4 separate regions of the Homo sapiens genome follow, and all the other regions are linked to region 3. The links are contacts of gene promoters, found by promoter capture Hi-C in human tissues and cell types (Jung and others, 2019). All regions are on one chromosome and are shown on one strand. Each heading gives the region's core, a stretch centred on a gene start or on the middle of the fragment in contact. The rest is flanking DNA. Distances are from core to core; before and after follow the strand shown.

What was found. The method cuts DNA at HindIII sites, captures the fragments that hold promoters and counts their contacts. A contact is called where the count stands out against the background at its distance.
Region 1: a contact is called between the fragment with the promoter of SCNM1 here and a fragment that was not itself captured in region 3, in 1 of the 25 tissues and cell types used here (spleen).
Region 2: a contact is called between the fragment with the promoter of SEMA6C here and a fragment that was not itself captured in region 3, in 1 of the 25 tissues and cell types used here (dorsolateral prefrontal cortex).
Region 4: the fragment with the promoter of VPS72 here is called in contact with a fragment that was not itself captured in region 3 in 1 of the 25 tissues and cell types used here (dorsolateral prefrontal cortex).

Annotation. Positions count from the first base shown.
Region 1 is chr1:151,160,847-151,167,762 of GRCh38, forward strand. SCNM1 (sodium channel modifier 1) reads left to right here and starts at 5,298. Exons shown (of 7, transcript NM_024041.4): 1 at 5,298-5,357; 2 at 5,625-5,695; 3 at 6,088-6,176; 4 at 6,275-6,372; 5 at 6,480-6,568. The coding sequence starts at 5,307. It overlaps TNFAIP8L2-SCNM1 (TNFAIP8L2-SCNM1 readthrough), which reads left to right. Exons shown (of 7, transcript NR_144937.2): 2 at 5,625-5,695; 3 at 6,088-6,176; 4 at 6,275-6,372; 5 at 6,480-6,568. LYSMD1 (LysM domain containing 1) reads right to left here and starts at 5,056. Exons shown (of 3, transcript NM_212551.5): 1 at 4,233-5,056; 2 at 890-1,254; 3 at 1-174. The coding sequence starts at 4,412. The coding sequence ends at 36. RefSeq lists enhancers at 4,538-5,243, 4,997-5,276, 5,244-5,950, 5,297-5,346. The HindIII fragment of the contact is 12,820 bases long and covers 1-6,916 here.
Region 2 is chr1:151,144,962-151,151,245 of GRCh38, forward strand. SEMA6C (semaphorin 6C) reads right to left here and starts at 1,670. Exons shown (of 19, transcript NM_030913.6): 1 at 1,472-1,670. It also overlaps a transcript of LYSMD1 not described here. RefSeq lists silencers at 1,418-1,877, 2,088-2,147. The HindIII fragment of the contact is 4,441 bases long and covers 169-4,609 here.
Region 3 is chr1:150,571,403-150,577,750 of GRCh38, forward strand. It overlaps MCL1 (MCL1 apoptosis regulator, BCL2 family member), which reads right to left. Exons shown (of 3, transcript NM_021960.5): 3 at 3,156-6,089. The coding sequence ends at 5,973. It overlaps ADAMTSL4-AS1 (ADAMTSL4 antisense RNA 1), which reads right to left and starts at 3,150. Exons shown (of 4, transcript NR_104133.1): 1 at 2,722-3,150; 2 at 2,257-2,419. The HindIII fragment of the contact is 4,214 bases long and covers 929-5,142 here.
Region 4 is chr1:151,187,483-151,194,190 of GRCh38, forward strand. It overlaps VPS72 (vacuolar protein sorting 72 homolog), which reads right to left and starts at 2,715. Exons shown (of 6, transcript NM_005997.3): 1 at 2,523-2,715. The coding sequence starts at 2,639. RefSeq lists enhancers at 2,690-2,759, 2,800-2,859. The HindIII fragment of the contact is 20,238 bases long and covers 1-6,708 here.

The DNA of each region.
Region 1 (6,916 bases), core at 4,048-6,547, 590 kb after region 3:
CAACATCTTGCTTCTCTCAGTCAGTTCTGGGGACATCAGAGTTTGAAGATTTCATCCTCCTGGTCCCGTAGTGTCCGGGTCCGAGAGGTACGGGTCAGCGGCACAGGACCTAGGACTGCTCGTTGCTGCATCCAAGGGGAGCTCAGGTGGAGACCTGCATCCTCCCCAGGTACCCTGCAATTGAGGAAAGGGGGGAAAGAGTGACAGATCAAGGGAAGAACCTGACAATGGGCCAAGTGAGAGGTACATGGAAAGCTATCTTCTAATACATAAGCTGGTTGCTTCAAGACAGTCTCAGTACCCTCTAGATAAATCCTAACCCTAATGCTCCTTCATGGATGATCAGAGCAGTAAAAACAGTTAACTGTCAGCTGGCCGCTGTGGCTCACGCCTGTAATTCCAGCACTTTGGGAGGCCGAGGCTGGCGGATCACGAGGTCAGGAGATTGAGATCATCCTGGCTAACATGGTGAAACCCCGCCTCTACTAAAAATACAAAATATTAGCCGGGCGTGGTGGCGGGCGCCTGTAGTCCCAGCTACTCGGGAGGCTGAGGCAGGAGAATGGCGTGAACCTGGGAGGCGGAGCTTGCAGTGAGCCAAGATCGCGCCACTGCACTCCAGCCTGGGCAACAGAGCAAGACCCCGTCTCAAAAAAAAAAAAAAATAGTTAACTGTCTGACTCCAATAAGAACACAGAACCCAGTTTTCCACTGCCTCTACCCAGGCCAGCAGCCATCACCTCTGCTCATTATCTTGGGGCCACATGGGGGAAAGGTATCACCTTGCCTCTGTTGGCACTGTCCTTACTTACTTGTGTTTGTGGTTAGGTAAGACAGGAATGATGGAGGAGTCTAGGGAGGAACTTATAAGGAACCATTCAAGACTCACCCATTTTCCCCTTTTTTCAGCTTCTGAGCAGCAGCCTTCTTGGACAGGCTGATCTGTGAATCAAGCTTCTTAAGGAAATCAGAGGCAGAGAGGTCATGGATGGGCGTGGGGGTTTCCTGGCCAGGTGTGGGGAGGACTTCACCATTGGCACGTCCTGCTCCTGTCTCTTGTTTCTTCCTCTCAGTTGAGTGTGGCCAAACTTCACTGTTACTTGGGTGTACTTTTTCCTCTCCATCTTTCTCTTCCTCAGAGTCCAAACCATTGAACAGGTCTCTGGGCTCTGTCAGGATGGGGATGTAGAGGGTTTTCTTCAGGAAGATGGAGTCATTAGTATAAAGGCGGTTTGCACGTTTAATCTGTTCCATCTTAAAAAAAAAAGTCACCAAAATTAAGGACAGTAATAATGATCAATCTTACATCTTGAGCTTTTTAAAGTGACTGTACAGAGTCTTCTTTGATTCCATAACAACCAAGCTAAAGTACAAAGGGCTGACATTATTTCTATTCTATAGATGAGTGGTTTTCACACTTTTTGGTCTTAGGGCCCCCTTACATTTTAAAAAATTATTGTGCAAGCCAGGCGCAATGTCTGATGCCTATAATTCCAGCTACTCAGGAGGCTGAGGAGGGAGGATAGCTTGAGCCCGGGAATTAGAGTCCAGCCTGAGTAATATAGTGAGACGCCATTTCTAAAAATTAAAAAATTAAAAATAAATGAATAAATAAATTAATGAATAAATAAAAATGAAGGAACTGAGGCTCAGAGAGGTTAAGCTACTTTCCTAAAATTATCTATCAAGTTAATGACAGAGCTAGAATGACAATCCTGGGTCTTTTCACTGCTTCTGAGAATGCTTTTCACACTATACTATTAACAATGTCATTAATAAATATTTATTTTGACCTATTTATTCATCACTGGACATAGTGACTGGCATCACCATCTATCTGCCTGGCCTCCCAAGGTAGAAACATCAATGTCATCCTTAACTAATACTTGCCTTTCATCACCATACCAAGTGGTCAACAAAACTGCTTCAAAAATCTCTCTCACATCTGGTCTCACCTTCCTACTGCCAAAGATTTAAAATAGACCCTCAGTATTTCTCATCTGGGGTTATTGCAACAGTTTAACTGGCCTTCCTCGCTCTATTTCTACTCATCCTCCTCTTGGCATCTATCTTTCTAAAAAAATAAATCTGATTAACCCACTACCCACCTATGGCTCCGCACTGGCTAAAAGATAAAAACCAAATTAGCATTCAAGGGCTTTCTCAATCCAGCTCCCAAAGGAAATGTCTAGATTAATCTCCCTCTGCCACCTCTACATTTTGCTATCCTGAACTTTTTATTTTTCTTTGAACATTCCATGATCTTTTTCACACTTTATTCATGCTGTTACTTCTGCCTGAAATGCTCCCACCCCCCTACTATCCCATTCTCTGCTTGGAAAACTTGTATTCATCAACTATCACTCCCTTTGTGCTACCTTCTTCAGGGCTCCCAATGCATACTGTAAATATTGCTATAATAATACATAACCCTACTATAATATTATTCACCTCTTTAAATATCTGCTTTGCCTAAACCCTATAAGTCCTTTAAGGGCAAGGATTGTGACTTGCTGTCTCTGTATCCCCAGGAAGTCATTAGCATCCTACAGACCTTGACACATAGCAGGGGCTCATTAATGCTTTATTTAAAAACTATTACTTATAATTATGTAATTATTATCATAATTAGATAATGAAATATAGAAACTACAGATATAGTGTATTCGTATTTTCTTTCTTTCTTTCTTTCTTTTTTTGGAGACAAGGTCTCACTCTGTCGCCCAGCCTGGAGTGTAGTGGCGCGATCTCGGCTCACTGAAACCTCCGCTTCCCCAGCTCAAGTGATCCTCTGCCTCAGCCTCCCCAGTAGGTGGGATTACAGGCACATGCCACCATGCCCGGCTAATTTTTGTATTTGTTGTAGAGATGGGGTTTCACCACATTGCCCAGAATGGTCCTGTACTCCCGAGCTCAAGCAATCCACCCACCTCAGCCTCCCAAAGTGCTGGGATTACAGGCATGAGCCACCACGCCTGGCCCACCACAGCCCCTTTCCAACTGAAATTTAATCTTTTCTGATTTCCTATCTTTGTGTGTGTGTGTGTGTGTGTGTGTGTGTGTGTGTCTCACTCTGTTGCCCAGGCTGGAGTGCTGGAGTGCAGTGGTGCGATCTCAGCTCATCGCAACCTCCCCCTCCTGGGTTCAAGCGATTCTCCCGCCTCAGCCTCCTGAGTAGCTGGGATTACAGGTGAGCACCACCACGCCCGGCTAATTTTTGTATTTTTAGTAGAGACAGGGTTTCACCATGTTGGCCAGACTGGTCTCGTACTCGTAACCTTAGGTGATCCACTTGCCTCTGCCTCCCAAAGTGCTGGGATTACAGGGGTGAGCCACCATGCCTGACCCCTATTCGTTGTTAATACCTTTACAAACTCACCACATTCTGTCACTTGTAATCATTATTTGTGTCCCTGTTCATTTCTCATTAGGCCATAAATTACATGAGGACAGCAACCATATAGTTTAAGTTTCTATCTCCCAGAAAAGTTATCACAGTGCTTTAAATACAGCAAGCATAAAAATGTTGGCTAAATTCAACATTTGTTTGAGTGAGATGGAACAAGAAAACAGGGGCAGGGATAGGGGGAGTAACCCCATCAACTTCAATGCTGTACATTTTTACATCTATCCAATTTCCCCCATGCATGACCTGAAATACTTGGTGTAGAGTACCTGTTTTGCACAAAGGAGGCCACCTTACTGGAAAGAAGGCAGAGCATTGAGGAGGAACCAAGAGCAAGGAGAGGTGGGCACTTTAGGAACTGAGAACTAAAAATCAGCTCTCCATTAGTTGCTGTAAACGTTTAATCACTCTCAACATAAAATTTTCTGTGTGGTTAATAGAGTCAGACAGACCTGTTTGAATCCCAAATCTGACGCTCATTATTTGACCTTAGCCAAACTGGTTAACCAATCCAAGTCTCAGTTTCTTCATCTGCCAAAAGGGAACGATAAATGTATACTTGATACAGATGTGAGGGTGAAATGAGCTAACGTATGTGAAGCCCTCAGCACAGTGTCTGGCATAATAAAATAGGAGCTGTTCCTCTCCGTTGGAATAGTAGGGCAGGACTTGTGCAACACTGTGATGGGAAAACAAAGATAAAGGCAGAACAGAGTGCAACACATTAGGAACATTTCAGGGGAGGTTACCTAGAAGGGCCACTACATTCTTCTCAGGACTAAATCCCTCCTGACTGTTGTCTTCACCCCAATCCTGGAAAACTCACCGTCACCCCATATTTGAGTGCTAGTCCAGCCAGGGTGTCTCCGGGCTCCAACTGATGCTCCAGGCGTCTTTCCCTCACTGGGGAGCAGGCCGATTGCACCAGGCTTCCATATGAACGAGCCCGGCTCCCTTGAAGCAGTCCTGACCCCCCTGGCGGGGGCTGTCTAGACGGGGAAGCCATCTCTTCACCCTGCCAACAGCTAAGGTTGCAACTAGGGGAGGTACGACCGAGACTGCGACTGACAGGCCTGAAGTCTGGGAATGAATATTCAGGGGATTCCTTTCCCCCTCTCTCTTCCCCTGTGTCCCCGCCTCCCCAGCACTACGCCATCTGCCCCCTCCCGGTTTCTCCTCCCTCCAAGCTACTTATCCACAAATCTGTCCCTTGAGTATTCAGTCCCTCCCTAATTCTCCCCTAAGCACCCCTCCGACTTTGGACTCCCCCACAACTCCTCGCTACATTGACCTCTGACCTTTGAACTCTAGAAATAATCCTCAACACTCTTTCCTCAGTTTGCCCCCAAGTAGCCTGGCCTCAGGGCGCTCCAACATCCCAGCTCTCCCCGGTCCCGGGGTTTGTTTGCTAGAGTCAGGAACAAATCAGGCCCACCCCAGGTGAACTGTCGCCGCAGACGAAGAGCGTGAGGATTGCAAGAATTTGTAGTACACCTTCCACTCAGAGATCCTCAAAGGTCCGCTCCGCATAAGATAGGTCACACCCTCAAATTTCGGCTCCACATCTAGGTTGTTGTCCCTCCAAACGCCTCAGATCCGCCAAGATGCAAGGGCCTGGATCCAGTTGAGCGGCAAGGTCTTTGAGAAAAGACTTCATTTCCCAAAAGGCTCCGCGTCTGCGGAGTCGCAGGGCACCATAGGAAATGCAGTTCCCTCCGAGCACCAGAGAGTGGATTTCCGGATCGCGCAATGCATGCGTGGAAGTGCGTCCCCGGAAGTACGGAGGCCGACAGGAAGAGAAGGAAAAAAGAGAAGGCGCTGTCCCGCTCTTGCTACGGTGGCCTGGAGGAGTGGCGAAACCGGAACAGAGAATTTATCACTTCTGGGACTCACAGTCGTGATGTCTTTCAAGAGGGAAGGAGACGATTGGAGTCAACTCAATGTGCTCAAAGTAAGCGTGAGCGGAGAGGATCTGGAGCCGCTTCAGTCGCTCCCTGAAGGTTGGGAAGGAGCTTTGTTTCATTGCTCTGGCAACAACTCGGGGGTGCAGGAGAGAACCAGGCGACTTAGAGCTGTGTAGTGACTCCTTTTTCGGTCTATGATCGCTGTTCTCCCCAGGGTCCTTATTCCATTTCACTCCTCATTTCTATAATTTCACTTCCACCCCTCTCTCCTATCCCGCTGATCCCGTCCGGATTTCTTCCCCTACTCCCTGCAGAAAAGAAGAGTCGGGGACCTCCTAGCCAGTTACATTCCAGAGGATGAGGCGCTGATGCTTCGGGATGGACGGTAAGAGCAAGGAGTGGCTCAAGCCTGAGGGTTCTGCGGTTAGAGGCTCAATAGACTTTTTTTTTTTTTTCCTTTGAGACGGAGGTCTCGCGGTGCTGCCCAGGCTGCCCTCGAACTCTAGGGCTCAAGTGATCCTGCCTCCTCAGCGTCGCGATTAGCTGGGTTTACAAGCGCATGCCACCACGCCTGGCTTCAACAAACTTTTGTTATTAATTAGGACAGCAGGAGTACCTAGGATTCTTTGGCGGCCAGTGAGGACTGGAAGAAGTGGAGATTGGGTCACCAGGGAGTTGGGTTTTGCAAAGACTGCTAGGACAGGGTGGGACCTATGGCAGGGACGGGCCCAACCCTCTTCCCCTGGACCACTTATCCTCTTCTCTACCCCTGCTCAGCTTTGCTTGTGCCATCTGCCCCCATCGACCGGTACTGGACACCCTGGCCATGCTGACTGCCCACCGTGCAGGCAAGAAACATCTGTCCAGTAAGTTAGGGGGAAGACGGGATGGGGAATAAACCCTCGAAATCTCTGCACACCACTCTTGGTGCTATGCTTTTAATTCTGTTTCCCTTTCTCCTCAGGCTTGCAGCTTTTCTATGGCAAGAAGCAGCCGGGAAAGGAAAGAAAGCAGAATCCAAAACATCAGAATGAATTGAGAAGGGAAGAAACCAAAGCTGAGGTAATCAGAGAGTGGAGAGTGTGTTCTAGGCAAGACCCTGCTGCACACACCAGGCTGGAAGGGCGGAGGGCTGAAGGCTCTGACTCTGTCTCCCATCTCCTTACCAGGCTCCTCTGCTAACTCAGACACGACTTATCACCCAGAGTGCTCTGCACAGAGCTCCCCACTATAACAGTTGCTGCCGCCGGAAGTACAGGTATGGGACGGGAAAGCCAGAGGTAGGAAGGCTCAGAAGGAGACAGATGGCTCTAAAAGAGTTTTCCAGTGTGTATTCTGAGGAATACTAGTGTTCTGGAGATGTTACTTAGTGTTTCAAGAAAAGGAGAATTTTGGCTGGGCGCGGTGACTCACGCCTGTAATCCCAGCACTTTTGGAGGCTGAGGTGGGTGGATCACTTGAGGTCAGGAGTTCAAGACCAGCCTGGCCAACATGGTGAAATCCTGTCTCTACCAAAAATGTAAAAAATTAGCTGGGTGTGTGGTGTGTGCCTGTAATCCCAGCTACTCAAGAGGCTGAGGCAGGAGAATTGCTTGAATCCGGGAGA
Region 2 (6,284 bases), core at 420-2,919, 570 kb after region 3:
CCAGCCTCTACAAACACTTGGCTGGCCTTTGCATTGGCCTTCTAGACTCAACTATGATACACCTTTAAGAGGGCTTCTTGTAGCTGTTTCTGGGAAGCAGCATCTGGTCAGCTCCTCAACTCCTGGCCTGGAGAAAAGATCACTCTGCCCTGGAAGAATCCGAGCTGCTTCACACACCCCATCTGAAGCACATGGGAGAGACCTGGCCGACTCTCCCCTTTCCAGATCCTCCCGTTGCTGGGAAGAGGAAACAGCCCTTCTCTCTCCTGGCCCCGAAGCCACCTCTGGGGAATGGCTGGGGTCACAGCCAGAGTCTAGGAGAGCTGTGGAAGGGATGGAGAAGGGGAGACTGGGCTGGGGACAATAGCAGGAAGCCTTTGGGCTGGTCGCCCGCCCCAGTCCACCTTCCTCAGAGGGAGCAGGGTCGCGCCAAGGAGCCTGTGGAACCGGAGCTTTCCTTTCTCCAAGCCATTTCCCCCACTCTTAGCTCTTAGCCCCACACTCAGCACCTACCCTCCTTCCCACCCAACCCCCAACCAGGACAATCCAGGTGTCTAAAGCCTCGAAAAGAGGTGGGCCTAGGGCCAGGGGCTCGACCTGTCTCCCCCTCACCGGATCCGGGGCTCCGAGGAGGGGCCGGTAGCAGAGTCTGGGCCGGGACCGGGTCCCAGAGCCACGTTAGCGAGAGGAGGGGCTGGAGGGGCCTGCAGGCGCAGACGAAGAGGGGATAGGAGCGGGGGTTGGGGAGCGGAGGCGGGTCTCCCAGGCCAGGGAAACAGGGCCAGAGGCTGAGAACCGACGAGGGCGGGCCTGAGGCCGGCGCTCAGTGGGGACCGTGGGCTCAGGAGGCAGTTGCCAGCTCGGATGTCCTCCTTGGGAGACCTCAGTCTAACAAAGCCCCGGGCCGAGCGGGCTGAAGGAAGGAGATAGGCGCTGGGACCGATGTTGCTCGAGGGCCCCATTCGCCGCCTCTTTGCACGAGCCAACCCTTCAGAGGGTGCTCAGATTCCGGCTTGCACAAGGACAGAGGAGCACCCGTGACACAAAGTCCGGAACGATGCGTCCCTCTTCCCATCCCTTCAGGGGCGTCAGGAGGGTCTAGTTCTCCGTGGGTCTCGGAGCCCTAGTTTCCTTGCTGGGAAAGCAAGGGGCCAGGTTTTCCACGCTCTCTACGGAGCGCGCCTCAAATAATCCCTTTTCGCGCTTCCCAGTCCAGCGGGATGCGACTCGACGAAAGCCCAATTGAACGAGGTGCCCAGACTCTGCTCTCACCAGTACAGTTACGGGGCTCGGCCACTGTCCCTCCTTCCTCCCTGCACCCCAATTTCGTTGACCCTCTCCGTCAGCCAGGCACACCGGGCGCCGACACCTCCCTGGTCCCCTAGCGCTTCAGAAGCTTGCCCCCCGCCGGCCGCGCCCTCCTGCTCCCTCCCCGCCTCCCCGCAGCCCCTTCCCTGCCCGGGGTACTTGCTCCAGGATTCGGGTCAGCGGGATCGAGATCGCCGCGGGCGGCCAGCGGCCACGCGCTGCGCTGAGTTCGCAATCCGTGGTTGTGCTCAGGCGAGATGCGATGAGCGTCCGAATTGGATGGTGCTTGAATTTGGGTTCCAGGGCGCTGTCGGGAGAGCCCTGGGTCCAAGTCCAGCCGCGGATCCGCGGAGGAAAACAATGCGACCGCCCGGGGCTCTGGGCTCGGCCCCAGTGGCCCCGCCCGCCTCCCAGCCGGGCCCACCTCCTGCCCGCCTTTGGGTCGCCGCGACTAATCCCGCCCTCGGAGGGCGGCTAGACACCGCCTTCTCGTCACCTCTCCGCCAATAGTGCTGCCCGGGGAGGGGCGCCAGGAGCACCGTCCACCCAGAGGGCCAGGCCGGGAGGCTGAACTGGAGACCAGAGACAGACGCGAGATGGAGAGACCCACGGACAGTCGCCGACACCGGGCAGAGGAAGAAATACATACAGAAGCAGAGACAGGCTGGCACAGGAGAGGCTCTGGGGAGAAATTTCCCAAGAGAGGAAGAGGAGCTGGGAGGAGAAACAGACAGGAAACCTGGGAGCCTCGCGGGGCTGGGCTGGGCTGTCAGAGCCTGCGCGATCCGTCCTCCCTTCCCCTCCTATACGGCTTGGGCGACCTTGCTCCCGAGGGCGCATCCCGCATCTCCCTGACTCTGCCCCCAACTCTCTGTTGCTCCTCTCTATGCGTTGTCCCTCTGTCTCCTTATTTCTCCCCGTAGGCCTCCTCTGGTTCGTCCTGACCCGGATAAGGAGGCCTAGCATGCGCGTGGGGGCTGGAGGCCTGGGAAAGGAAAGGAAGGTGTCAGCAGGAGGTTTCCCTTGTTTCCATGATCTCCTCCCCTCCCACCTCTACAAAGCAGCATGAGTTTGGGCCACTATGGCAAGAACTAGCTAGCAGTCAGGCTGTTGGGTAATGGAAGAGGGCAGGTGAGAGAGGCTGAAGCCAAAACAGATGTGGAAATCAAGACTAACTGACTCAGAGAAAGGCACAAAGAGTAGCAACGCTAAGACTTGATAAAGTAACCCACACAGCCTTCCTGCCCCACAGACATACGTCCCACCTTTCCTCAGAGGACCGTGACATCCCTCCAAACAGCAAAACTGCCCCTTCTCCCTCCCCACCCTTCATAAAGCCCCTGGGAATGTCAGTGAGGAGGAAGAATAAACTACTACAGACAGGATTGCTTGGTACCTTGGTATTGCCTGGTAGGATTCTTCTCTATGTGGGGCTGGGACAAAAGACATTCTCAAAATTCTCCAGGAAAGTGGGTGGCCTGGGAGACACTGGCATTCTCAGATAGTTTTATCTGACTGAACACTTCTACCCACATCTTGGACTCTGGACTAGAGGAAAGGAGGGGGAAGGGGTTTGCCACTTTAGGCCAGCCTTAACTGGACTGTGATCAGGGAGGGGAGTATCAACAACTAGGCTAAGCCCCACAGCGAGTACACAAGAGACCTAAACATACACACACATGTGCACACGCACATACAGAGAAAGAGAGAGACAGAGAGACAGATTTAAGGCCAGGTGAACCAGTAAGATGAACAGTAACTCAGTAAAGTCAGATCTAAAAAAAATAGAAGAAGATAAACAGGGACAATATCTACACAGAATTAACGGCCGAGGGATCTTGGGTCCAAGGCAATTCAACAAACTGTCAGACAGTTGGGGTTGTTTTAAAGGCTGGAAAGAAATTTTCAGAGAAAGACACCTCAAAATACAGAGGCACTGAGAGGTTAAAAGAAATCTCCTCAGCTCCTAGCACAGGGTTTAGGTACTCAGATACATGCTTATGGAATAGATTAGTGAGTGGGGATTAAGGTGTAATTCATTTAAAGTTTTAGGACCCAGCTCAAATCTCAGTTCAATCCAGTAAGTATTAAACACTTACTTGAGACACAATCTACTACACAATCCACTGTGGGTTGTGGTTCCAGACTTTAAGAAAATGATAATATATTTGAATTAAAATAAGATTTGCACATACTAAACTATTAAAAAGTCTAAACTATTAAAAAGACAGTACTAAATATTAAATATTTAATAGTACTAAACTATTAAAAAGACAACACCAAGTCTCAAAAGAAAAGCTACATTGAACATAAATTTCCAAATGTGCAAAGAAGACAATAAATATTCTCCGAAGACTGCACAGAAAGATGCTGGATACATTTTATCATGAAGGACAGGAAAACTTTGGTGGGAGTTGGCTTGGTGCAAAAGAAGAAAATGTTCCCGAGGGACACAGCTTCAGCAAAAGCTTTTACTTGGTTAGCAAGGAGCCTGCAGCATGGATAAAAAAAAGGTCCTGTGAGGCTGGTGTGTGGGAAAGGCACTAGTTAGGAGCAAGGGGAGGGAAAAGGGGAAGACAAATTACAGAAGGCCTGGAATGACTAGGTGAGCTGGTTAAAATCATCTGACAGGAGTAGGACGTCATTTTAAATTCTTGAAAAAGGGTGCAACTTGTATTTTTTTATTTTTTTAAGCAAGAAGACAGAGACCTACTAGCAAGTAAACAAGGTTTAAAGGTGAGGGGAGAGGGACAATCAGACAAGGGTGATGGGAACAGATTTAGAAAGAAATACATGAATCTGAGAGCTATTTTGAAGGACAAATCAAAATGACTCTCTTGGCTGGGCGAGGTGGCTCACCCCTGTAATCCCAGCACTTTGGGAGGCCGAAGTGGGCAGATCACCTGAGGTCAGGAGTTCTGAGACCAGCCTGGCCAACATGGAGAAACTCCAGCTCTGCTAAAAATACAAAAAAAAATTAGCCGGGTGTGGTGATGGGCACCTGCAATCCCAGCTACTCAGGAGGCTGAGGCAGGGGAATTGCTTGAACTCAGGTGACAGGAGATTGCAGTGAGCCAAGATCGTGCCACTGCACTCCAGCCTGGGTGACACAGAGGGAGACTCTTAAAAAAATAAAAATAAAAATAAAAAACCTCTCTTCCTACTCCCTTAGTGTTTTGAAGAAAATCACACAGTCCTGGCCGGGCGCAGTGACTCAGGCCTGTAATCCTAGCACTTTGGGAGGCTGAGGCGGGTGGATTGCCTGAGCTCAGGAGTTCGAGACCAGCCTGGGCAACAACAGTGAAACCCCGTCTCTACTAAAATAAAAAGAATTAGCCGGGCGTGGCGGTGTGCGCCTGTAGTCCCAACTACTGGGGAGGCTGAGGCAGGAGAATTGCTTGAACCCAGGAGGCGGAGCTTGCAGTGAGCCGAGATCGCACCACTGCACTCCAGCCTGGGCAACAGAGCGAGACTCCATCTCAAAAAAAGGAAATCACACAGTCCCACAGATTGGATTGGAAAAGCACTCTCTTCCAATCCCCAGGGAGATATTTCAAACTTCCTCCTTTTTTTGCAAGTTCCTTTCCTTACCATTTCCTTGTTCATCTCAGGAAAACCCTCATCCGTCTTCAGAGAAAACAGAGATAATAAAGTGAGAATTCCACCAACTTTTTGCTCCCTACAGATATACTTACCTGCATCATGTCTCTCTCATCCTAGTGAATGCCATCCGTATCACCTGTCGAAGGTTCACCTATGACTTTACTGTAAGTTGTATGCAGTCCCTGGTTGTCTATCTTGCTCAACACTGTATCCTTTCCTTGTAGCATAGTGCCTGCACACAGAAAGTATTAACTTAAAAAAAAAATAGAGGCAGAGTCTCATTGTGTTGCCCAGGCTGGTCTTGAACTCCTAGGCTCAAGTGATTCTCCTGCCTCGGCCTCTCGAACTGCTGGGATTACCGGCGTCAGCCACCATTCCCAGTCTTAACCTGTCCTTTTCTACTGATATTTTCCCCTTAGCATATACACATGCTCAAGTAATTCCCATGATTAAAAGGAAAACATTCCAAACTTTCTCTTGATCCTTGTCTGCACCCAGTCATCACTCGATTTCTCTTCCCTTCATAACTAAGCTTCTAGAGTTACCTATACTTGCTATATCCATTTTCATGATTCTCATTCTCAATCATTTTAGTTTTTGTCCCCATCAGTCCACTGAGATTGCTCTCATTAAGGCCACCAACGACCTCCTGGTCACATTCAATGAACAACTCTTCAGTCTTTATCCTTTTGCCCTCTCTGTGCCATTTGACCTGTTGACTCCCCCCTCCTTGAAATGCTTTCTTCTTTTGGCTCCTGAGGTCCCTCTTTCTCTTAACAAAGACTAGGGGCTTAATAAATATGTATTTTTAATGAATGGATAGTTTCACTTCTATTAATATGGCTTTTCTTTTCTTTTCTTTTCTTTTTTTTTTTTTTTTGAGACAGAGACTCACTCTGTCGCCCCAGGCTGGAGTGCAGTAGCATAATCTTGGCTCACTCACTGCAACCTCCACCTCCTGGGTTCAAGCGCTTCTCCATCTCAGCCTCCCGAGTAGCTGGGATTACAGGCGCCCACCACCACGCCCAGCTAATTTTTATATTTTTAGTAGAGACAGGGTTTCGCCATGTTGGCCAGGCTGGTCTCGAACTCCTGACCTCAAGCGATCTGCCCACCTCAGCCTCCAAAGTGTTGGGATTACAGGTGTGAGCCACCACACCCAGCCTAATATGACCTTTCTTAGCCTTCTCTGACCTCTCTAAATGCTGGTGTTCCCTATGGTCATGTCCTTAGCCACCTCTTTCTTCTCTACCCATTCTCATTGGTCAAGATAATCCGACAATGAGAACAGTTACAAAACCAACAGTTACAATAAACTGTTTTGTTTTGTTTTGTTTTGAGATGAGTCTCCCTCTGTCACCTAGGCTAGAGTG
Region 3 (6,348 bases), core at 1,786-4,285:
GCAATAGAGTGAGACCCCACCTCTTAAAAAAAAAAAAATCCTAACTTACCTCAATGTTGAAGATTTCTCATTTCCCAATGGAAAATAACTATTATTCTATGCAGGTCAAGAAGGGAACTGCAAATTAGAAACCAAGTATAGTGTGGGAACAAAAGCTTGCTACGTATATCCTTTTTCTACTTCCCAAGAATTATTAGTAAAGGACACCAAATTTTCGGAGGTGTTTTTTTTTGAGATGGAGTCTCGCTCTGTCGCCAGGCTGGAGTGCAGTGGTGTGATTTTGGCTCACTGCAATCTGGGACTACAGGCGCGTGACCCCATACCCAGCTAATTTTTGTATTTTTAGTAGAGACGGGGTTTCACCATGTTGGCCAAGCTGGTCTCAAATTCCTGACTTCGGGTGATCTGCCCGCCTTGGGCTCCCAAAGTGCTGGGATTACAGGCATAAGCCACCGCCCCTGGCCTTTTTTTTTTTTTTTTTGAGAGGAAGTCTCGCTCTGTCACCCAGACTGGAGTGCAGTGGCATGATCTTGGCTCACTGCAACCTCCACCTCCTGGGTTCAAGCAATTCTCCTGCCTCAGCCTCCTGAATAGCTGGGACTACTAGTGCCCGCCACCAGTAGTGGCGTTTAACCGTGTTGGCCAGGCTGGTCTCAAACTTCTGTCCTCAAGTGATCAGCCCGCCTTGGCCTCCCAAAGTGCTGGGATTACAGGCGTGAGCCACCTCACTAGAGAGGTATTTATTTTGTTTGAGACAGAGTCTCACACTGTCACCTGGGCTTAAGTGCAGTGGCACGATCTCGGCTCACTGCAACCTCCACCTCCGGGGTTCCTCCCAGGTTCACGTGGTTCTCCTGCCTCAGCCTCCCAAGTAGCTGGGATTACAGGCGCCCGCCACCATGCCCAGTTAATTTTTTTTATTTTTAGTAGAGATGGGGTTTCACTGTATTGGCCAGACTGGCCTCAAACTCCTGACCTCATGATCCCTCCACCTTGGCCTCCCAAAGTGCTGGGATTACAGGTGTGAGTCACCGTGCCTTTTTTTTTTTTTTTTTTTTGAGACAGCGTCTGGCTCTGTCGCCCAGGCCCCGGAGTGCAATGGCATGATCTCAGCTCACTGCAACCTCCGCCTCCCGGGTTCGAGCGATTCTCCTGCCTCAGCCTCCCAAAGTGCTGGGATTACAGGCCTGAGCCACAGCGCCCGACCCGGAGAGCTGTTTCTTAATCTGCCTGGAGGAAAATCCCCAGCCCCCAACTTTCCACATACTTCACATAGATAACACTGTAACAACTTTGAAACTAAGAGGGAGAGAATTAAGTTTTCAAATTTGAAATTGAGAAGCCTTTGAAGAGTGGCAGCGTTCTAGAAAGTTCCATGATTGAACAAGTGAAGCAAAAAACTAGGATAGACTCAACTGACCATCTGAACTCCAGGAATTAATAGCCAGTGCTTTGGGCATCTGGCTGGAGCCATGGTACGCACCAGTTGTACAAGTTATTTCATTTTAATTTTGTAAAAAAAAAAAAAAAAATCCTTCGGCTGTCACAACTGTTTTAAATAAAAATTTTGTGAAAAAACAGTATGAAGACGTTGCTCTAGATACAGAACAGGAACTGAGAAAGTCTGGTTGTGTCAAATAAAGCAAAGTGTTGATAATTCTGACTACTGATTAAGGTTACCCAGTTACTATTAAATCCAAGCTTTTAAGGTGCTGAGCAAAGGAACACTGTACCAGAAACGGCTTCACATCATAGCACGTCAATGGGAGCAATAGCACTAACTTAACTCAGGCCAAGACTTGGGCTTGGGTCCTCTGTGGCTGCTACTCTCCTACCACACCTTTGCTTGGGAGTGCACTTACACAGCTTTCTTTGTAATGATACAAAAAGTTGCTGCCTTTTGGTAGTTAGGCTCCAGAAAGGGGCTTCCAAACCAAAATGCACTTTTAAATAGAAATGCAACTGACTGCAGGGAGGCACAGAATCCTGATTGCCTGATTAGCATATGGTGCTCAGGGCTTAAAACCAAGTATGCAAACCTCACATTTGCACATTTCCATGGTGATTCAGCTCACTTTCAAGGTAGCTGAAAATAAAAGCAGGATAGGGGTTTTTGAAATTGACTGGCTTCTTTTTACCTCCTTTTGGAAAGCAGAAGGGGAAAAGCACTGCTGCCAAGAACTTCATCAAAACTCTTTAACTTTAGGTATTATTTAGGTGTTATGATAGAGTAACTGCTGTACAGTACCCTCTTACCTCAAGATCAAGGCTGGGCGCAGTGGCTCAGGTCTGTAATCGCAGCACTTCGGCTGAGGCGAGTGGATCACTGAGGTCAGGACTTCAAGACCAGCCTGACCAACACGGCAAAACCCCGTCTCTACCAAAAATAGAAAAATTAGCCGGGCATGGTGGCGGGCACCTGTAATCCCAGCTACTCGGGAGGCTGAGGTTGCAGTGAGCCGAGATTGCCCCACTGCACTCTAGCCTGGGCAAAAGAGTGAGACTGTGCCTCAAAACAAAACAAAACAAAACATACCAACACCTGGTGATTCAAAAAAATCAAGACAGAGGCTGGGTGCGATGGCTCACGCCTGTAATCCTGGCACTCTGGGAGGCAGAGGTGGGCAGATCACCTGAGGTCGGGAGTTCAAGACCAGCCTGACCAACACGGAGAAACCCCATCTCTACTAAAAATACAAAATTATCTGGGTGTGGTGGCGCATGCCTGTATTCCCAGCTACTCAGGAGGCTGAGGCAGGAGAATCATTTGAACCTGGGAGGCGGAGGTTGCGGTGAGCGGAGATCGTGCCATTGCACTCCAGCCTGGACAACAAGAGCAAAACTCCATCTCAAAAAAAAAATAATAAATAAATAAATCAAGACAGAAATTTTGATTTTAAAGAGGTTTTTGATTTTACTTGGAGGTTTAAGAACTCCTCTAAGTACAGCAGTAATATATTTAATTAAAAACCCAACACCTCTAATTAGAATTGAAGAAAGGAACTGTCCTTTGCTCTAAGGCAAATCAACTTTGTGAGGCTTTTGCTTTGAATTCACCTGTACATATTTGCTCAGCTGACTTCTCTAAAAGGTTTGCCTAAGAGAGGGAAGGAAAAAGAGGCGTCGATGAGAAAAGACCCATATCACACCCTGTATTTGAATAAAAGATTTATTTTTTTTTCTCAGGAAAAACAGAAAGTTAGGGAAACACACTACATTTGACAACCAACATTAATTTGTAGTTGGTCCTAACCCTTCCTGGCACAGCTATCAAAAGTACAGCTGTTTAACCAGAACCAAGGTGTTCACCCCCCACAGAATGTACATGAAACACTAGAGGACTGCATGTTTTTCCCTGAGAGAAGCGTAAGACAAACAGAAGTCAAAAAGTAGTCACTGGGAGCGCCATCCTTCTAAGCAAATCCTCCCTTTCCCTTTTGGAGGATTTGCCCGAACTACGTAGCCAGTCAGCACTTAGACCACCTGCCTCCTCCTCCCCCTATAAACCCACCACTCCCCTCCTCCTTTCCCAAACCACTTGGGGTGTCCTAAGCCCTCACTGCCCCAAGCCCAAAATATCAACTAAGATCCTTGTCTGTATTTCCACAGTCATACCTAATGAATTGGGAAGTGGGGCCCCTAAAAACCAATTCACATCTATGCACTTGTTTCCACTGGATTTGGCAGACAGGCTTTTTTAGTTACCGTAACCAGATCTTAAGATTAATTAAAAACTACATAAAGTGCTTTTAGGTCCTTAGAGATACATGATATAAATAAGCGGCTTATGATCAAGAACGATAAATACATAGGTAAAAATAGCTCTAGCAAAGATGACCTTATGGCTCTGAGATGGGCAGGCAGGGCAGTTCTTCCCCATTACATTCTTAGTCATCTTATTCATACCTATTTTTAAATGGAGTCCACAGACTAAAGGTCATGTTCCGAGACTGAAGCTTTCAAATGACCCTAGTTCCAATATAGACACTTTCTTCAGTTTATCAGTAGCTTTTAAACTCTGAGGTTTAACACAGCTCACCTCTTTCTGTAAATTTAAGTGAGCATACTCCTATACAAAGGAAACTTTAGAGAAAGCCTCATAAAATGTTCTTTCCTCTGAAAATTCCTGAGGGGACTTTTGACACATTGCCCCCAAAGACAGGATAAAACAATAGTTGAAAAGATACCAGTCCAAGGAAAAGGGACTTCCTCCCACCTCTCAATGACTGTTAGTGTCACAGCACCCATGGTATTACCACCTGCTAACAGGATCAAGTTCGTGAAAGATGAAAGGTCTGTGGACTCTTGGTGGGGAGGGAGGGTCACTCAGGTTTCCAGCAGGGGTTTCACAGTGCCAAAATCTAAAAGGGCTAGAAAGAGTTCAGGGATGGCAGGGGAAAGCTGTAGGAATTGATATAAATATCTGTAGAGGGAGCAGAACAATCAGCAATTTCAAGGAAGGACAGGAAATAAAAGGTTAAGTCTGATAGAACAAACATCAAGACTGAAATCCAAAGATGCCAATGCAAAAACTTGCAACAAGGTTTGGGAATCATTAATAGAAACAAAACAGTAAGTATTTGCTTTATTGACATACTAGGCTTAGACCTGTGTGTGTAACAAGCAAGCCTAATAATAGCACCATGGTTAGACTAGCCTGCTTTTCCAAGCCATCATTTTATAATTTATTAAGCAAACAAGGGATCAAATGTCTCTCCATCCACCTGATGTGATCTTTTTATATGCACACAGCTAATGAGTTCCATTCAGCTGAAAATCTTTTAGTAAAAGCTTTAAAGATGAGCCCATGAATTCACTTTAAATTTCACCAGTTAAATTAGGTCAAATGGAAGGAACTCAAATGAGTATTGCCCAATCAGAGCCCATTATTTGTAAGTCATCAGTAACCTTAAAACTCCACTTAGACCTAATTATTGAAAACTTGCATATAATGAAGTGAAAGAATTTCCATTCATCAACCTCTCAATCCCAGGTTTTCAAAGAAAAACCTAAGGAATACTTACCAAAATCAGATAAGAAAATTTAAACCTGCATAGTTATCAGATTTGTTCCACTACAACCAGTCTGCATACAGTTACACATCAATTCGTTCTGTATACACTCTAGAACTGAACAGAACAAAGTTTAGCATAGAAAAGCTGTAAGAAACAGGTTCCTAATTACGGAAGTTGCAAAGTTCAAAAGGGTATGAAAAAAACTAATGTAAATTCGATACTTCCTTCGTTTCAAAGAAATAGACTTTCTGTAAAAATATATACAATTTTTACAAATACATTTACAAGCTGTCTTAAGAATTGAGGATATCCATATTCATAACTAATTACTGAGCCTTCCGTCAAGTATTATTGGTGATAAACTAGGCTAATAAAGTAAGAATCATGGAAACCAAGCCAAAGTATAACAGGTATAAAAGTCCTGAACACTTGGACTTTCTAAGAAGTATACTGGGAAAGCTAATTAGAGAGAGGAAAAGCTTCCCTTGTACAGTACTGAGGCTTACAGTCATAGTTCTATTACTTGTAACTTTTACACAGGTCACTGGCATTCTTAGTGCTTCTCTTAACACTACAGTAAATTAATGAATTCGGCGGGTAATCAATTCTATGACTTGCCTGGCTACTGGCCACTTTCCTGTTCTCAACAAGGAAATTAAGTCTTTCCACCCTACCATCTTCACTAAATCTAAAAGTCCTCCTCCATAGCTTCCCAAACAAAGTTTGTTTGTTGCTGAAACTGAACTTTGCTTCTTTCAGACAGTGACTCTTCAATCAATGGGGAGCACTCTTCCCATGTATTTATTCTTGTTAGCCATAATCCTCTTGCCACTTGCTTTTCTGGCTAGGTTGCTAGGGTGCAACTCTAGGAAGTTACAGCTTGGAGTCCAACTGCATAAACTGGTTTTGGTGGTGGTGGTGGTTGGTTAAAAGTCAACTATTGCACTTACAGTAAGGCTATCTTATTAGATATGCCAAACCAGCTCCTACTCCAGCAACACCTGCAAAAGCCAGCAGCACATTCCTGATGCCACCTTCTAGGTCCTCTACATGGAAGAACTCCACAAACCCATCCTAGAAAACAAAAAAGAAAAGCACATTTTCAAGTATGGGTTTCTGCTCTCTTACAACACTACTATCCAGAGAGAAGGTAAATTAAAATATCTAAGGTTTCCCCCTAAAGCAATAGTAAACCAATTATTATTCACCCCGGGGCAAAAAAAGAAAATAAGTTCTTCAGTTTCTTAAGCGGGGACCCATGATAATTAAACTTCATTTTACAGTACTATCTTGGTCTTATTAGGATTTATCCTAACAAAAGGACTTCCAGAGT
Region 4 (6,708 bases), core at 1,465-3,964, 620 kb after region 3:
CACCAGAGGGTAGTAGATCAACCACACATTAGCTTAGTGCCCAATCAACATACTTGCACTAAATTAAGGATTTACTACCATTCCTTCGGCTTTTATTGAGAGTCATTAAGAGACATCACTAGAAAAGAGAATGTTTGTATATCATCTATGAAAACCATTACTTTTTATAATATAAGGATATAATGATAAATGCTCCCTAGGATTTAAGGCTGAAAAAGTTTGTGTCTCTTGAAGAACTTGTATGCTTCTTTCTTACTAAAAAAAGAAATACAAGGTTTGGCTACCAGGAAGCTCACAACTAAATTTAATATCAATTGCTATTACCATTTTAGCAGAGGTTCCTGGTACAATTACTTCTGATCTGTCTCTATTTTTACTGTTCCTACTTTTTGTTTATATTGTAAGCCTCCTTAAATCCTTTTTGGAAGCATGAAGGGTACATATTAAATAACAAGTCGTAAAATGACAGAAATAGGAAAATGGCCTTAGAGGAGGGATGAGAAAGTTCTATTTTAAACTAGTTGGTTAGGGCTGTGTCAGTAATGACTCTGTCAGTGATGTGGGTTTTTTTTTTTTTTGAGACAGAGTCTCACTCTGTCGCCCAGGCTGGAGGGCAGTGGCGCAATCCACTGCAACCTCTGCCTCCTGGGTTCAAGTGATTCTCCTGCCTCAGCCTCCTAAGTAGCTGGAATTACAGGCACACGCCACCACAACCAGCTAATTTTTTGCATTTTTAGTAGTGACAGGGTTTCACCATGTTGGTCAGGCTGGTCTCGAACTCCTGACCTCGTGATCCACCCGCCTCAGCCTCCCAAAGTGCTGGAATTACAGGCGTGAGCCACCACACCCAGCCCCTAAGTCCTGTGGGTTCTATTCCTTAATTTCTCTTGAATCTTTCTGTTTCTCTACTGCCATGCCCCCTTCAAGCCATTCTCATTACAGAGTAAGTAACCTTCCTAAAGTACAAATTTCATCGTGGAATTCTGATGACTCTTCTCAGTCCTCTGGATGAAGAGCAAAATTCCTTAACATAGCTCACAAGGCCCTAAAGGATCTGGCCCATGCCTACTCCCTGCAGGCTTATCAATCTTTAGTCTCCTTCATGCTCTGGAGAATGAAAGTAGACTTGCAGGTCCTAGACCAGGATCTCAATGTCTTTACATACTCAGCCCATCCTGCTCTGTGGACTAACCTTTCTCCTTCTCCTGCTTTTCATCAAGCTAAGGTCTACTTTTCAAACTGTCCTCAGCTTAAACATCATCCCTCCAGGGATGCCTATCCTGATCAACAACTTTGGTTCAGATGTATTACCTTAACACTCTTACACCTTGTTTTAGTCCTTATCACACATTTTTTGTTTGTTTTTGAGACGGAGTCCTGCTCTGTCGCCCAGGCTGGAGTGCAGTGGTACGATCTCGGCTCACTGCAACCTCCTCCTCCCAGGTTCAAGCGATTCTCTGCCTCAGCCTCCTGAGTAGCTGGGACTATAGGCGCACACCACCACGCTTGGCTAATTTTTGTATTTTAATAGAGACAGGGGGTTTTACCATGTTGGCCAGGATGGTCTCGATTTCCTGACCTTGTGATCCACCCGCCTCGGCCTTCCAAAGTGCTGGGATTACAGGCGTGAGCCACTGTGCCCGGCCAAAGCCACTGTGCTCGGCCTATCACACAGTATTTTAACTGTTAACCCAGGCAGTTACCCCACTGGGGCATGGAGTATGTAAGGACAGAGCACTGTTTTTAATATTCTGTTTCCCTAGAGCCTAAAACAACCTATTACCGATGGCATGCTCTGGGTACTCAACACATTTAATAAACGGGTAGATTCAACTAATAAAAATTTAGCAAGTGGCAGCCCAGTCCGGACACCTCACACATAATGTTGAACAAAACAGACCATCTCTAACTTTATACAGTTTACAATGCAATAGAAAAGCATAAGCAAGTAAGCAAACCAAATCTAATTGCAAATTGAAATATGTTCTGTGGAAGAAATAAATGGGGACACTTGTTAGGATAGTCAAGGAAGGGTTATCTTCCTGAGAAAACATTTACACTGAGACCTGAAAGCTGAAAAAGAAGTGGGCTAAGCTCCTCTACTTTTGGAGCGGTTCCTTTCCATGTCTCAGGTGAATAATCCAGCAGTGGGCCAACGAGTATACATCGAGCAACTGTCTACTACTATGTGTGTGCCTCGTGTATGCTGGACGTCAGAAGTACAGTGAAAGATGCAACCACGCAAGTATACGGTAGGTTTCTGCCGTTCTCTGTTCTCTGGAGTGCCTCCGGAGAGCTTCTCCGTCTCAGGCCCCTTTGACCCCATCCAGAGCTCTCCCTTCTAGGACTCCACACTATCCGTTCCCCCGCCTCGCCCCCCGGCTCCGATTCACCCACCCAACTCGAGTATCAGCTCCCAGAGCTCCTCTCTATTCCCCGCCCTCTTCTTCTTTGTCCGGGGTTTCTCCCTTCAGGGCTCCTCTTTGCCTCCTCCCCTCCCTTTTCCCAGGCCCGGATCTTGCCTCTGTGAAACCCCCATAAGTCGTCTGGTAGAACTCATCTTCCTCCTCTGCCTCCAAAAGCCCAGAAAGCCGGTTCCCAGCGGTCTTCCGGGGTGCCCGGCCCCCAGCCAAACTCATACCGCCTACCGAGACTGCGCCGCCACCTGCAGCCCCTCACCAGCTCGGTTTTGGGAGCTCGACGCTCGACATCACTACCTGCGGGTGGCCACCAGCGGCGGAAGTCGGGCGTTTACAGGCAGAAGTAACAGAGTGTCGAGAGACTCCCAGTCCCACCCTCTAAACCCTCTTTACTCTTCAGCCTCTCCTACTCCTGCGCGGATGCTCTAGGCCGCTTGCTCTAGTACCCAGCGATCTCCCTTGCTCAATGAGTCCACTTGGTGGTACGAAGACCCCCATAACCCTAAGTCAACACATTTTATTTTATTTATTTTTATTTTATATATATATATGGTTTTTTTTTTCCGTAGGGACGGAGTCTCGCCTCGCTCTGTCGCCAGACTGGAGTGCAGTGGCACGATCTCGGCTCACTGCAACCTCCGTCCCCCGGGCTGAAGCGATTCTCCTGCCTCAGTCCCCCGAGTAGCTGGGATTACAGGCGCCCGCCACCATGCCCAACTAATTTTTGTATTTTTAGTAGAGACAGCTTTCACCGTGTTGGCCAGGCTGGTCTCGAACTCCTGACCTCAGGTGATCCGCCCGCTTCGGCCTCCCAAAGTGCTGGGATTACAGGCATAAGCCTGCGCCCCCAGCTCACATTTTCTTTTAGAAGAGGTCATTCTCTCCGCTCCAGTCCATTTTCTACACTGCTGCTAGTAGGAAACTTTCTAAAAACCCACGTTTTGCCACTCCTGTCCTCAAACATTTTTAATGGCTCCACATCATCTACAAGATAAAGTCAAAAATCCTTGAGGAAGGAAGCATAGTATTGTGGTTAAAAACACAGCCATAGACATTTATCCAAAGGAAAGGACATAATTCAACCTGAGGAAGCCAATTTAGGAGGAAAAAAAAAAAGGAAATCAGTATATCCAAGAGACGTCTGCACTCCATATTTATGCACCCCCATATTTATTGCAGCACTACTTAGAGTAGCCAAAATAGGAAATCAATCTCTGTGTCCAACAACAGATGAATAAAGGAAATAGGGTGTATATACACAATGGAATACTTTTCAGCCATTAAAAAGAAGAAAATCCTGTCATTTGCAGCAACATGGATGGAACTGGAGGACATGTTAACTGACTTAAGCCACGAACAGAAAGTTAAAACACTGCATGTTCTCACTCATATGTGACGCTTTTAAAAAGTTGATTTCATAGAAGTGAAAGAACAGAGGATACTGGAGGCTGGGAAGAGCAGGGGGAAGGAAGGGACAGGGAAAGATTTGTTAAAAGACACAAAATTGTGGCTCACACCTGTAATCCCAGCACTTTGGGAGGCCGAAGGGGGTGGATCATGAGGTCAGGAGTTCACGACCAGCCTGGCCAAGATGGCGAAACCCCATCTCTACTAAAAATACAAAAATTAGCTGGTCGTGGTGGTGGGCGCCTGTTATCCCAGATACTCGAGAGGCTGAGGCAGAGAATTGCTTGAACTCGGGAGGCGGAGGTTGCAGTGAGCCGAGATCGCGCCATTTGCTCTCCAGCCTGGGAAACAGAGCAAGACTCCGTCTCAGAAAAAAAAAAAAGACAAAATTGGGCCTGGCACAGTGGCTCACACCTGTAATCCCAGCACTTTGGGAGGCTGAAGCGGGCAGATCCCGAGGTCAAGAGATTGTGACCATCCTGGCCAACATGGTGAAACCCCGTATCTACTACAAATACAAAAATTAGCTGGGTGTGGTGGCGCGCACCTGTAGTCCCAGCTACTAGGGAGGCTGAGGCAGGAGAATCGCTTGAACCCGGGAGGCAGAGGTTGCAGTGAGCTGAGATTGTGCCACTGCACTCCAGCCTGGCAACAGAGCAAGACTCCATCTCAAAAGAAAAAAAAAAAAGACACAAAATTACAATTTTTTTTGAGACAGGGTCTCTATTGCCCAGGCTGGAGTGCAGCAGCAGGATCATGGCTCACTGCCTCCTTGACCTCCTGGGCTCAAGCTGTCCTCCCACCTTGGCTTCCAAAAGTGCTAGGATTACAGCTGTGAGCCACCACACTGGCCCCCAATTACATTTGTTTGTTCGTTTGTTTGTTTGTTTGAGATAGGATCTCACTTTGTCACCCAGGCTGGAATACAGTGATGCAATCACTGCTCACTGCAGTCTCGACCTCCTGGGTTCAAGTGATCATCGCACCTCAGCCTCGTGGGTAGCTGGAACTACAGGCTCGTGTCACCACGCCTGGCTAATTTTTTGTACTTTTTGTGGAGATGAGATTTCATCATGTTGCCCACGGTGATCACCTGAGCTCAAGTGATCCCCACTCCTCAGCCTCTCAATGTGCTGGGATTACAGGTGTGAGCCACCTCGCTTGGCCCCAAATTACATTTAGATAGGAGGAATAAATTCTAGTGTTCTTGGCCGGGTGTGGTGGCTCACACCTGTAATCCCAAAACTTTGGGAGGCTGAAGTGGGCAGATCACCTTAGATCAGGAGTTTGAGACTAGCCTGGCCAACATGGCGAAACCCCATCTCTACTAAAAATACAAAAATTAGCCGAGCACGTTGGCGGGTGCCTGTAATCCCACCTACTAGGAGGCAGAGGCAGGAGAATCACTTGAACCCCGGAGGCGGAGGTTGCAGTGAACCAAGATCGCACCATTGCACTCTAGCCTGGGCAACAAGAGTGAGACTCCATCTCAAAAAAAAAAAAAAAAATTCTAGTGTTCTATATCACTGGGGGATAACTATGATTAACAATAATATTTTCAAATAGCTAGAAGAAGGATATTGAATGTTTGTGCTGGAGACAAATAAATTATATATTTGTGAGGCCAGGCACGGTGGCTCACGCCTGTAATCCCAGCACTTTGGGAGGTTAAGGTGGGCAGATTATTTGAGGTCGGTAGTTCAAGACAAGCCTGACTGACATGGTGAAACCTTGTCTTTACTAAAAAGTACGCAAATTGGCCAGGAGTGGTGGCAGGTGCCTGTAGTTCCAGCTACTTAGGAGGCTGAGACATGAGAATCACTTGAAACCGGGAGGTGGAGGTTGTAGTGAGCCAACGTCGTGCCACTGCACTCCAGCTTGGATGACAGAGCGAGACACCATCTCAAAATAAATAAATAAATAAATGATACATTTTTTAGATGACAGATATACTAATTATCCTGATCTGATCACTAAACATTTTATGTATTGAAACATCACTATGTGCCCCATAAATATGTACAATTATGTGCCAATTAAAAATTAAAATAAAATAAAACAACAACAAAAAGAGAACACAGCTTTAGAGCCAGCCAGACCTGAATTTGAGTGTGAACTTTAAGGTCTTTTAGCTGTATGACTTTGGACAAGTTGCTTTACTTCTCTGAATCTCAGTTTTCTCATCTGCAAAGTGGGACTGATAATAATACCTATCTTTTAAGGTCGTAGAAGATTAAGAGATATAATTATTGGCCAGGTGCCATGGCTCACGCCTATAATCCCAGTACTTTGGGAGGCCGAGGCGGGTAGATCACAAGGTCAGTAGTTCGAGACCAGCGTGGCCAGTATGGTGAAACCCCATCTCTACTGAAAATATAAAAATTACCCAGGCATGGTGGCGGGTGCCTGTAGTCCCAGCTAGTCGAGAGGCTGAGGCAGGAGAATAGCTTGAACCCAGGAGACGGAGGTTGCAGTGAGCCAAGATAGCACCACTGCACTCCAGCCCGGGCGACAGAGCCACATTCTGTCTCAAAAAAAAAAAAAAAAAAAAAAAAAGACAGAGAGAGATAATTCTTGTCAACTGCTTAGCACAGTGTTTAGTAAGTGCATAGTAAATGTGTAGTAGGTGGTAACTACTACATGGCATTCAGTATTCAGATCCTTCATAATTTAGCCTCTCCCTGTCCTTCTAGTCACACCTCCTGCGACATCACTACTCCAGCATCTCTCCCCTAACACCCAATTCTCTGTCATGCCTCTATGCCTTTCTTTCTCCTTAGAATCCCTTTCCTTTCTTTTCTAATTTTATGGGAGAGTGGAGTCTTCCTGAACACCCATTCCTCTCTTTCCAGGCACAATTCATATAACTATGGAGATGATG